3 separate regions of the Homo sapiens genome follow, and all the other regions are linked to region 1. The links are contacts of gene promoters, found by promoter capture Hi-C in blood cells and fetal thymus (Javierre and others, 2016). All regions are on one chromosome and are shown on one strand. Each heading gives the region's core, a stretch centred on a gene start or on the middle of the fragment in contact. The rest is flanking DNA. Distances are from core to core; before and after follow the strand shown.

Evidence for each region. Contacts are between HindIII fragments. The CHiCAGO score rates a contact against its expected background, and 5 or more counts as called.
Region 2: a contact is called between a fragment that was not itself captured here and the fragment with the promoter of CBLN2 in region 1, in 1 of 17 cell types (endothelial precursors). The highest score is 6.7, in endothelial precursors.
Region 3: a contact is called between a fragment that was not itself captured here and the fragment with the promoter of CBLN2 in region 1, in 1 of 17 cell types (endothelial precursors). The highest score is 27.5, in endothelial precursors.

Annotation. Positions count from the first base shown.
Region 1 is chr18:72,542,721-72,545,848 of GRCh38, forward strand. CBLN2 (cerebellin 2 precursor) reads right to left here and starts at 1,622. Exons shown (of 5, transcript NM_182511.4): 1 at 1,257-1,622; 2 at 766-810. The HindIII fragment of the contact is 3,863 bases long and covers 1,494-3,128 here.
Region 2 is chr18:70,501,884-70,504,666 of GRCh38, forward strand. No RefSeq gene overlaps it. Among named protein-coding and RNA genes, the nearest start is that of LINC01910, 120 kb to the left of the region's middle. The HindIII fragment of the contact is 9,214 bases long and covers 1-2,783 here.
Region 3 is chr18:70,483,279-70,486,272 of GRCh38, forward strand. It overlaps LOC105376872 (a long non-coding RNA gene), which reads left to right. Exons shown (of 3, transcript XR_935606.3): 2 at 2,967-2,994. Among named protein-coding and RNA genes, the nearest start is that of LINC01910, 100 kb to the left of the region's middle. The HindIII fragment of the contact is 1,290 bases long and covers 756-2,045 here.

The DNA of each region.
Region 1 (3,128 bases), core at 372-2,871:
CCTTGGAGCAGCACCAAGGAACCCTTTTCCTATCCCTTGTTTCCCTGCTATCCTCTATTTTTCAATCCTCGAGATGTTTTTAAAGTCCATTTAAGTCCCTTTGGTACAGATTTTATCTGTTTTCCACCCACAGAACAAATCCCAGGAATCTCCTTGGGGCGAATAAGATTACTAGGGGGGAAATGACACCACACACACACACACACACACACACACACACACACACACACACACACACGGGCAGTAAAGCCAAACACCTACTTCCAAGGTCCCTGCAGCCACTAGCGAGCCCCCTTGGGTGAAACCCCTGGGATTCCTCTCTTAGGCGAAGGACCGATTCCAACGACGGAATCCCAGGCTTGGGTTATTCTCCAGCTCTGGTTTCCAGACCACGGGGATTCTCTCTTTCTCAGCGGGGCGGCAGCCCCTGCAGGTTTCTGCGAACTTACGCGCCCGTCTGCACTTTTGCCCCGTCCCCGCTCCTCCCAGGAAAGCAGACAGGCCATTTCAATACCAGCCCAGAGACACGCAGAGAAGCCGCCCCCTCGCCGCCCACAGCCTCCCATTAACTCTTCCAGTATTCTTTCTAAGAACAGAGAAGTTGGCTCTTGATAAATATCCGCTGTCCGCAGCCCCGATCCTACATGATTTCCCTTCTCTCTCTCCACCTCCTCCACCCCTCGATCTGGACCAGGGAGAGTCTTCGTTAAAATCCACGCAGAAGGCGCTTGCATGCGGAGGGGAGGGCAGGTCGGGGGTGGTTACCTGGAACATCCATGCTGGGCGAGCTCCGCTGTCCGCGAAGTTGCTCTGCTTAGAGAAAATGAGGCGAGTGGGAGCTGTCGGGAGGAGGACACGGAGCGCGACCCTGCTCCCAGCGCGTGGCCAATAACCGCGCCGCCCCGCCCTGCCGCTTTCCCGCGCCAGCCTGCGCCGCTTCAGGGGTGCACCACGCCCCGCGCGCCCGCTTAGGCGCCGCGCCCGGGACCGGGAACCCCGCGTCTCGCCCGGCTCAGCGCCCCGCGCTGTGCGCCCAGGTGCCTCCAACCCCTGGGCTTCGCGCCCGCACCGCTGCCTGGGGCCCCTCGAGCTCCCGCGCTCAGCGCGTCCGCAGCGCGGCTCCCTCGCGGGTCCCCTCGGCCCCGCAGCCCCGCCAGTCTCCAGAGGGCATAGCCGAGCGCTGCCGCCTCCCTAGGACTCGGAACCTTCCCTGCTCCCAAGCCCGCCGCACCCTCCAACGCCCCGGTCCTGCTCACCCAAACGCCCAGAGCAAAATACTCCCAGACGTCTCTTTTGAAAATTAGACACCCTTAAAAGCACCGGTCGCTTCTCTTCTTTTAGATTCTTTCTTTTCTTTCCCCAATTCCCTCCAAGTCTTAATATTGAATGGCGTGACCACTTTCATAATGACAGGAGCGAAAAAAACAATAAGTTAAAAAAAAAAAAAAGAAGAAGAAGACTGGGATGGCTGGGACGAAGAGAGGGAAAAAAAAAGCTTGAGAATTTGATGATTTAGGAGCTGTGGTTCCAGAGTCCCAGTTGGGGAACTGTCCGGTTCCCGCAGGGCTAGAAGAGGGGCCTCCGGCCCGGGTCTGTGTGTCTGCTCCTCTGGACCTCGGACTGGTGGAGCGGCTGGCGCTTGCGCTTATTTATTAAATTGCGGTGTCCGCGCTCGCTCAAAGGACCCGGGGAGACGCGCTGGGTTTCCCAGCTGCGCCTGGAGCTCGGCTGAGGGCGCAAACACGGACGTGGGGCGCCACCTGCGGGTGCCCGGGCCTCCCTGCCGCAGGCTGCGGACCGGCGGACTCCGACAGAAGACGGGGGAGTCCTGGCCGCAAGGCTGAGGTTTGCTGATGGTCTTCTTTCACCCCAAAAGCAGCGCTGACCTCTGCAATAATAATAATATAATAATAATAATAATGATAGCAACCACAAGAAGAACAATAATGACCAGTCTTCCCGGTATCCTTCAGTACTTTTACTCCTGGCAAAACCAAGCAGCACGCCGCCTGATTTTCCGGATCTTCACTGATCTAACAAACAACTCTGCCAAGATGATAAATGCTGCGGTGAGGTTATCATCGGTTATTATCGTCGGCACAACGTTTGCACAGACAACTGGGCCGTATAGTTTATGCTGGTCTAAAAAACAATCAATATTTAAATCTACACTCTATAGCCTGATTTTTTTTTAAAACATGGTTAAAAAATACTTTGTCCTTTGACATGCATTATACGTCTTTTCTGATAGGCTAATAATAATAATAATAATAATAATAATAAAGTTAGCCAGTGCTGTTCATTAGAGCATCTGTATTTCTTATTCCTCCAGACTTCACACCGAACCCTCTCCCCTTTGAAGATTTCAGCAGTGTCTGATTCCACCTTAACAAACGGAGGTCTTTTCAGGTAGGGGGTTTTGAAGGCCTTATTTTCCCATAGGCCCTCTCACCGCTATTCTCCCCATTTAGAACAGAACTGCCAAGGCATCATCTCTAAGCACTGGAGATGAAATTCACGATCAGTTCAACTGGAATGGATATGCAGAAAGTCATTGCACACTGCTGCGTGAGACAAAATATTTAGTATGGGTGTAAGGATGTGATTAAAAGTACCTCTGAGCCAAATGCTTCCTGGTTAACCTAGCATGCAAAATAGTAGAAAATATACAATACTTCCAAAATCTCTCATCCTCCTAAGCTATACTCACTGTAAAGTAAATGTCATACTTCAACACTTTTGTACCATGCTGGAGATAGGTACTGGCATTTGCCAGGATGCTTTTTCAAATCCACCACAGTTTGCCATGTTTTGTTACCATTTTTGTGAGTTTAACAGAGTGGAAATGCACTCTTACTTTCAAATAGTTATTTTATTCCACTATTTCATCCATGTGATAGTGTCTTACTGTCAAAATAAGCCCCCATCCATCATTCCACCATAGAGAGAACTGATTTAAGTGTAAGCATAGATAGCAAAGAACACTAGATATTTGAAAGACATGTGAGACACAGACATAATTAGACCAATCTGGGGATGCTAATTTATAGCAATACCTCTCACACATCTGTAAGTCCTTAAATAGCAACTCTACTCAGCATCTTTCCTCAATACTGTAAGCATTCCTT
Region 2 (2,783 bases), core at 39-2,538, 2.0 Mb before region 1:
AAGTTGATTAGCAGTATAATGAACATATTTGAAATAATTTGGGCTCTTTTAGCCAGAATTAGAATAAGATTTGTGAGGAAGAAATTGAATCTGCTTTGGTTATTTAACAGTTTTCTTGCCAGTGTATTTTATGTGGATACAGCACTTAGGAACATCAGAAACATACAGTATTATCATGCTGGAGAGAGACTGTGGGAAATGCTTCTTTTGCTGTATATGTACTCGTTTAGAATTTTGATCCAAGTTCTGGAATGTTTGTTATATCTGTACATATGTTCAACTCTGTCTTGGATTTGTTACAGTGTCCAGAGAGCATATCTAAGACTTTTCCTCTGTTTTTCTGGGGAAGTAAAACATACTTTGATGATTCCAGAAACTTTATCCGTATTTTGCTACACATATATACTTACACATATTTGCACAATGTAAACTCTATATTATGAAAATAACACTTACTCATTAAAAATCAAGAATACAGAAGTCCTGCTCCTCTGGGCTTTCTTAATAATTGGGTGTCTATTCTTCCCAGTTTTTTTCTATGTCTATAGCAGTGGTTCTTATACTTTAGTAAGCGTCAGACTCTACTGGAGGGAGTATTAAAACAGATTGCTGGGTCCCACCCCACAGATTCTAATTTAGTGTGTCAAGGGATGACTGTATTACTAGCTTTAGTTCCTTGATTGATTTCTCTTGAACTCTAAGTAATATTTTACCTTTTAATCTCTTGTTTCATTATATATAGATAATATCTCTTGATTACCTACAGTGTGATATGATGTGATATGAGTATATTAATAACATTATTCTTTCAACTCTTCCTACTTACTTTCCAAATCTTGTTTACTTGTTTGTCAACACAATCTTTGATTCCATTCTTTAACCATAATTGTCTTCTTTTCTTTGTCAAGAGTTTGATAATAACTTGGAAATGAAATAGTTTTCTTGATCTGACTGGATACTTATTGTTCTCTAGAGCACCGTGTAATGCACAATGATTTTCTTTGTTTTTTTTTAACTCTTTGTCTTCCATGGAGTTTCTATTGCCTTTATTTTTTTACTTTACCCTATACATTTACCATAGCCTCATTTTAAAATAACTCAATATACTACCATTTATTCTGTTGATATCCCCTTGCCCAACACTTATCTCTATATCCTTTACTTTATTTTGTTATTTTATTTTATTTATCTTTCTCTGCTTTTAACTGATTGCTCTCTAGGATAGCTACACAGCTGTTATCCTGGGACTGTCCTTCATAGCTCTTCTCAGTTGGATCATCTCTTTACTACATTCCCTAATTTCTTCTTTCTTAGTCCTTCCTCTTGCTGAATTACACCCTTCATTAACTTCCTAAGAGGGAAATCAATATGCTGAGTCATGCATATTTGAAAATGTCTTCAATCAGCCCTTATAAATGATTAAGTGGTTGGCTTATGTAGAATTTTCCATTGAGAATTATTTTCCCGTGAGAAATTTGAAGATATTACTACATTGTCATCTACCTTCCAGTGTTAGTGATTCTCTTTCCTTAGCAGATTATTTTTCTCCCATATTCTCTGGAAGCCTTAATATCTTTTCTTTATTCTCAGTATTCTAAAAATTATCTAATTATTCTCTTTTTTTCTCTTCTCTGTTGTCTCTGTTGGGAATCTGTTAGTTTGATGGAAAACAAACTTGATTTCATCCAATTTTATTTGATGACTATCATCTCTTCTTTATATTCTGCTTTTCTGTAAGATATTCTTCATTGAATGTCTTATCTTCCAAGTGACTGGCAATCATATTTTAATTCCTGAGTATTTTCTGATTCTCTAATTTTTTCATTTTGATAGCAAATATTATTATTTGTGGATAGACTATTTCCTTAGAGGTCTTTGAATGTATCACTTAAAATTTTTTCTTTTCCTTTATTGTTTCTTTTTCCTACCCGCCCCCGCAACCCCCAGGGTTAATTTATTTACTTTCTTAAATCTTGGGTTTTATATTGTCTTTTTAATCTTGGTCCTTATGTTGCAGGATTTCCTGAAATATCTGGTGACACTTGGTTGCACATTCATACTTAAGAATGAGGCACTAAAAACTTATGACTGAGAGCCCAGACTTCATGGATTAGTTTTTTTTTTTTTTAATTTAACAAGGATGTATTCACAGGAATACACGCAAGTAAAGAAAAATAACAGAAAAACTAAAATGAAATGAAGCGTATTCAAACCACTTCCATTCTGTGACTTTTAACTTGTAGTCTCTGCTTATATATGCAGGGTACAGGAGGCCCCCAACATGGGCCAATGCAGTGAAAGAACCCTGCATTCCATGCTCCATGGCTTAGTTCTTGATACTTTCTAAAACACCAAATTACAGATGGCTTTGCTTAGTGCTATGTCTCTTGAAATGACTCTTCTGTTTCTTCCCAATATTGTGCCCAATTTCTTTAAAAAGATCATCTTCCTTTTTTGGAGGTGGTGGCCCGGAGGTGACTTGTATTGCAAAAATAGGCAGCCAGGTGTTTTGCACATAAAAGTTAGGGATGGGATGAAAAAAAATCAACATTTATAGGCTTTTTTTTTTTTTTTTTTGTGGGGGGTGGTGGAGTTTTGCTCTGTCGCCCAGGCTGGAGTGCAGTGGTGTGATCTTGGCTCACTGTAACCTCCGCCTCCTGGGTTCAAGTGATTCTCCTGTCTCAGCTTCCTGAATAGCTGGGATTACAGGCGTGCGCCACCAAGCTGGGCTAATTTTTGTATTTTTAGTAGAGACGGGGTTTCACCATGTTGGCCAGGCTGGT
Region 3 (2,994 bases), core at 151-2,650, 2.1 Mb before region 1:
GTGTTTGGTATGATTTTGGTTCTTTTGCATTTGCTGAGGATTGTTTTATATTTGATTACGTGGTCAGTGTGCTATGTGGTGATGAGAAGAATGTATATTCTGTTGTTTTTGGGTGGAAAGTTCTGTAGAGCTCTATCAGATCCATTTGGTCCAATGTTGAGTTCAGCCTCTAAATACCTTTGTTAACTTTCTGTCTTGATGTTCTGTCTGATACTGTCAATGGAGTTTTGAGGTTTCCCACTATTATTATGTGTGAGTCTATGTCTCTTTAAAGGTCTCTAAGAACTTGTTTTATGAATCTGGGTGCTCCTATGTTGGGTGCATATATATTGGTGATGGGATCTGCTTTTTATGATTTCCGTTTGCTTGGTAGATTTTTTCTCCATCTCTTTATTTTGAGCCTATGGGTGTCATTATGTGTGAGATCGGTTTCTTGAAGACAGGATACCATTGGGTCTTGCTTTTTTATTCAGCTTGCCACTCTGTGCCTTTTAAGTGGGGGCATTTAGCCCATTTACATTCAAGGTTTGTATTGATATGAGTGGTTTTGATCCTGTCCTTGTGTTTTTAGCTGGTTATTATGTTGCTTTATAGTGTGACTGGTCTGTGTATTTAAGTGTGTTCTTGTATTTGCTGGTAATGGTCTTTCCTTTCTATATTTAGTTCTCCTTTAAAGATCTTTTGTAAGCAGATCTGGTGGTAACAAACTCCCTCAAAATTTGCTTATCTGAAAAGGATTTCTTCTTCACGTAGGAAGCTTAGTTTGGCTGGCTATTCTTGGTTATTTTTTTTTTCTTTAAGAATGTTGACTATAGGCCCCTAGTTTCTTCTGGCTTGTAGGGTTTCAGCTGGGGGGTGGACTGCTAGCCTGATGGTGTTCCCTTTGTAGGCAATCTGCCCTTTTTCTCTAGCTGCCTCTACCATTCTTTCATTTCAACCTTGGAAAGTCTGATGATTACGTGTTTTAAGGATGATCTTCTTGAGTAGAATCTTGCAGGAGTTCTCTATTTCCTGAATTTGACTGTTGGCCTCTCCAGCGAGACTGGGGAAGTTTTCATAGATGATATCCTGAAATATGTTTTCCAAGTTGTTTGCTTTCTCCCCTTCCTTTTCAGGGACACCAGTGGTTGGTAGATTTGCCTTCTTTATATAATTCCATATTTTTCAGAGGTTTTGTTCATTCCTTTTCATTCTAATTTCTTTATTTTCATTTGACTGTCTTATTTCAGAGAGGCAGTCTTTAATTTCTTAGATTCCTTCCTCAGCATGGTCTATTCCACTACTGATATTTGCAATTGCATTGTGAAATTCTTGTAGTGTTTTTCAGTTTTGTGAGATCCATTAGGATCTGGCTATGCCATTTTTCAGCTTCTGTATCATTTTATTGTGATATTTAGTTTCCTTGGATTGGGTTTTACTATTCTGAATCTTGAGGATCTTTGTTCCTATCCATATTCTGAATTATATTTCTGTCTTTTCAGCCAACTGAACTTGGTTAAGAACTCTTGTTGGGGCCGGGCGCAGTGGCTCATGCCTGTAATCCTAGCACTTCGGGAGGCTGAGGTGGGCAGATCACAAGGTCAAAAGATTGAGACCATCCTGGCCAACAGGGTGAAACCCCGTCTCTACTAAAAATACAAAAGTTAGCTGCGTGTAGTGGTGCGTGCCTGTAGTCCCGGCTACTTGGGAGGCTGAGGCAGGTGAATGGCTTGAACCTGGGAGGCAGAGGTTGTAGTGAGCCAAGATCACACCACTGCACTCCAGCCTGGTGACACAGCGAGACTCCGTCTTAAAAAAAGAAAAGGAAAGAAAAAAAGAACTCTTGTTGGAGAACTACTGCATTACCTGAGTTCTTGCATTGGTTCTTTCTCATCTCTGCATGTGGGTGTTCCTTTAACTGCAGTGTATATTGAGTACAGTCAATAGACTTCTTTTCTGGATGTTTTCACAGGGATGAGGCTTTTTGTGCAGCATCTTTATTTGTAGCTGACTGCTTGTCTTTGGTTTCACAGTAGGGTATGTTAGTGAGGTATTTTGGGGGTTGAAGCTTTGGAGTGTGATTCAGTAGGTGGTGCTTAGGCATATCGGTCAGTTGTTAGGCTGTTGCTCAGTTGTGTGGCTTCCCTATATTTCCTTACTGTTGCAGCCACACTCCCTCTCAGTGCTCTGAAATTTTGGCTCTTCTCTCACTTGAGTGCTGGCTGTAGATTGCAGCTTGGCACTCCTGAGCTACCCACCACAGCTCTGGGGTGATCTCAGGGTTTATGTTCCCTCCCCAACTTGGAGGCAGCAGAGGAAGGGACATTAGTAGTGGTTGTGTCCAAGGGTCTTTTGCTTGTCTCCTGGGGACTCCACCCCAGAGAAATGCAGGTCGTCAATCACTCAGTGCAATCAGTCCAGGATGGAGAGTCTGTGCTGTGGGCCCAAGCCAGGGGTTCCCTGCATGGGGACTAGTATTTTTAAGATGGCTGAAATATGTTCAATGAACAAGGGCTTTTATATAAAAATAAAGTGATTCCACCAATAGTCAGTGTTTATTCAAAGAGAAAGGTTCATAGTCAACAACATGACTCTGGTTGTTAAAGGAAATAGTGAAAATTGCGGAGAAGATAAAATCTTAGACATAAGGTGTTTTTTATTTACAGTATTTTGAGTGAGGGAGTGGGCTATGAAACTGCATTTAAAAACACCAAAATACATTGCTAATAGAAAAGCTGTTTGCATAAATTTACACGGAGGTAAAATCACTTCTTCATGTTGTTGATAAAACCGGTAAAGATGATTTTGTGATATGTGGTGGTTTGGGAATATATTACTATTTGGCCTAGCCTGAACCTGTCACCTACAACTGAATGATTACAGTTTTCACCATTGAGGTTGTAATATTAGGAATTATTAGAGACCAAACTTGGGCACACTGGGAGCTTAACTCTTTTCCATACTTGATGATTTTCTTCACTACTCAGAAAATGAAATCAATGAGATGTTACTGGG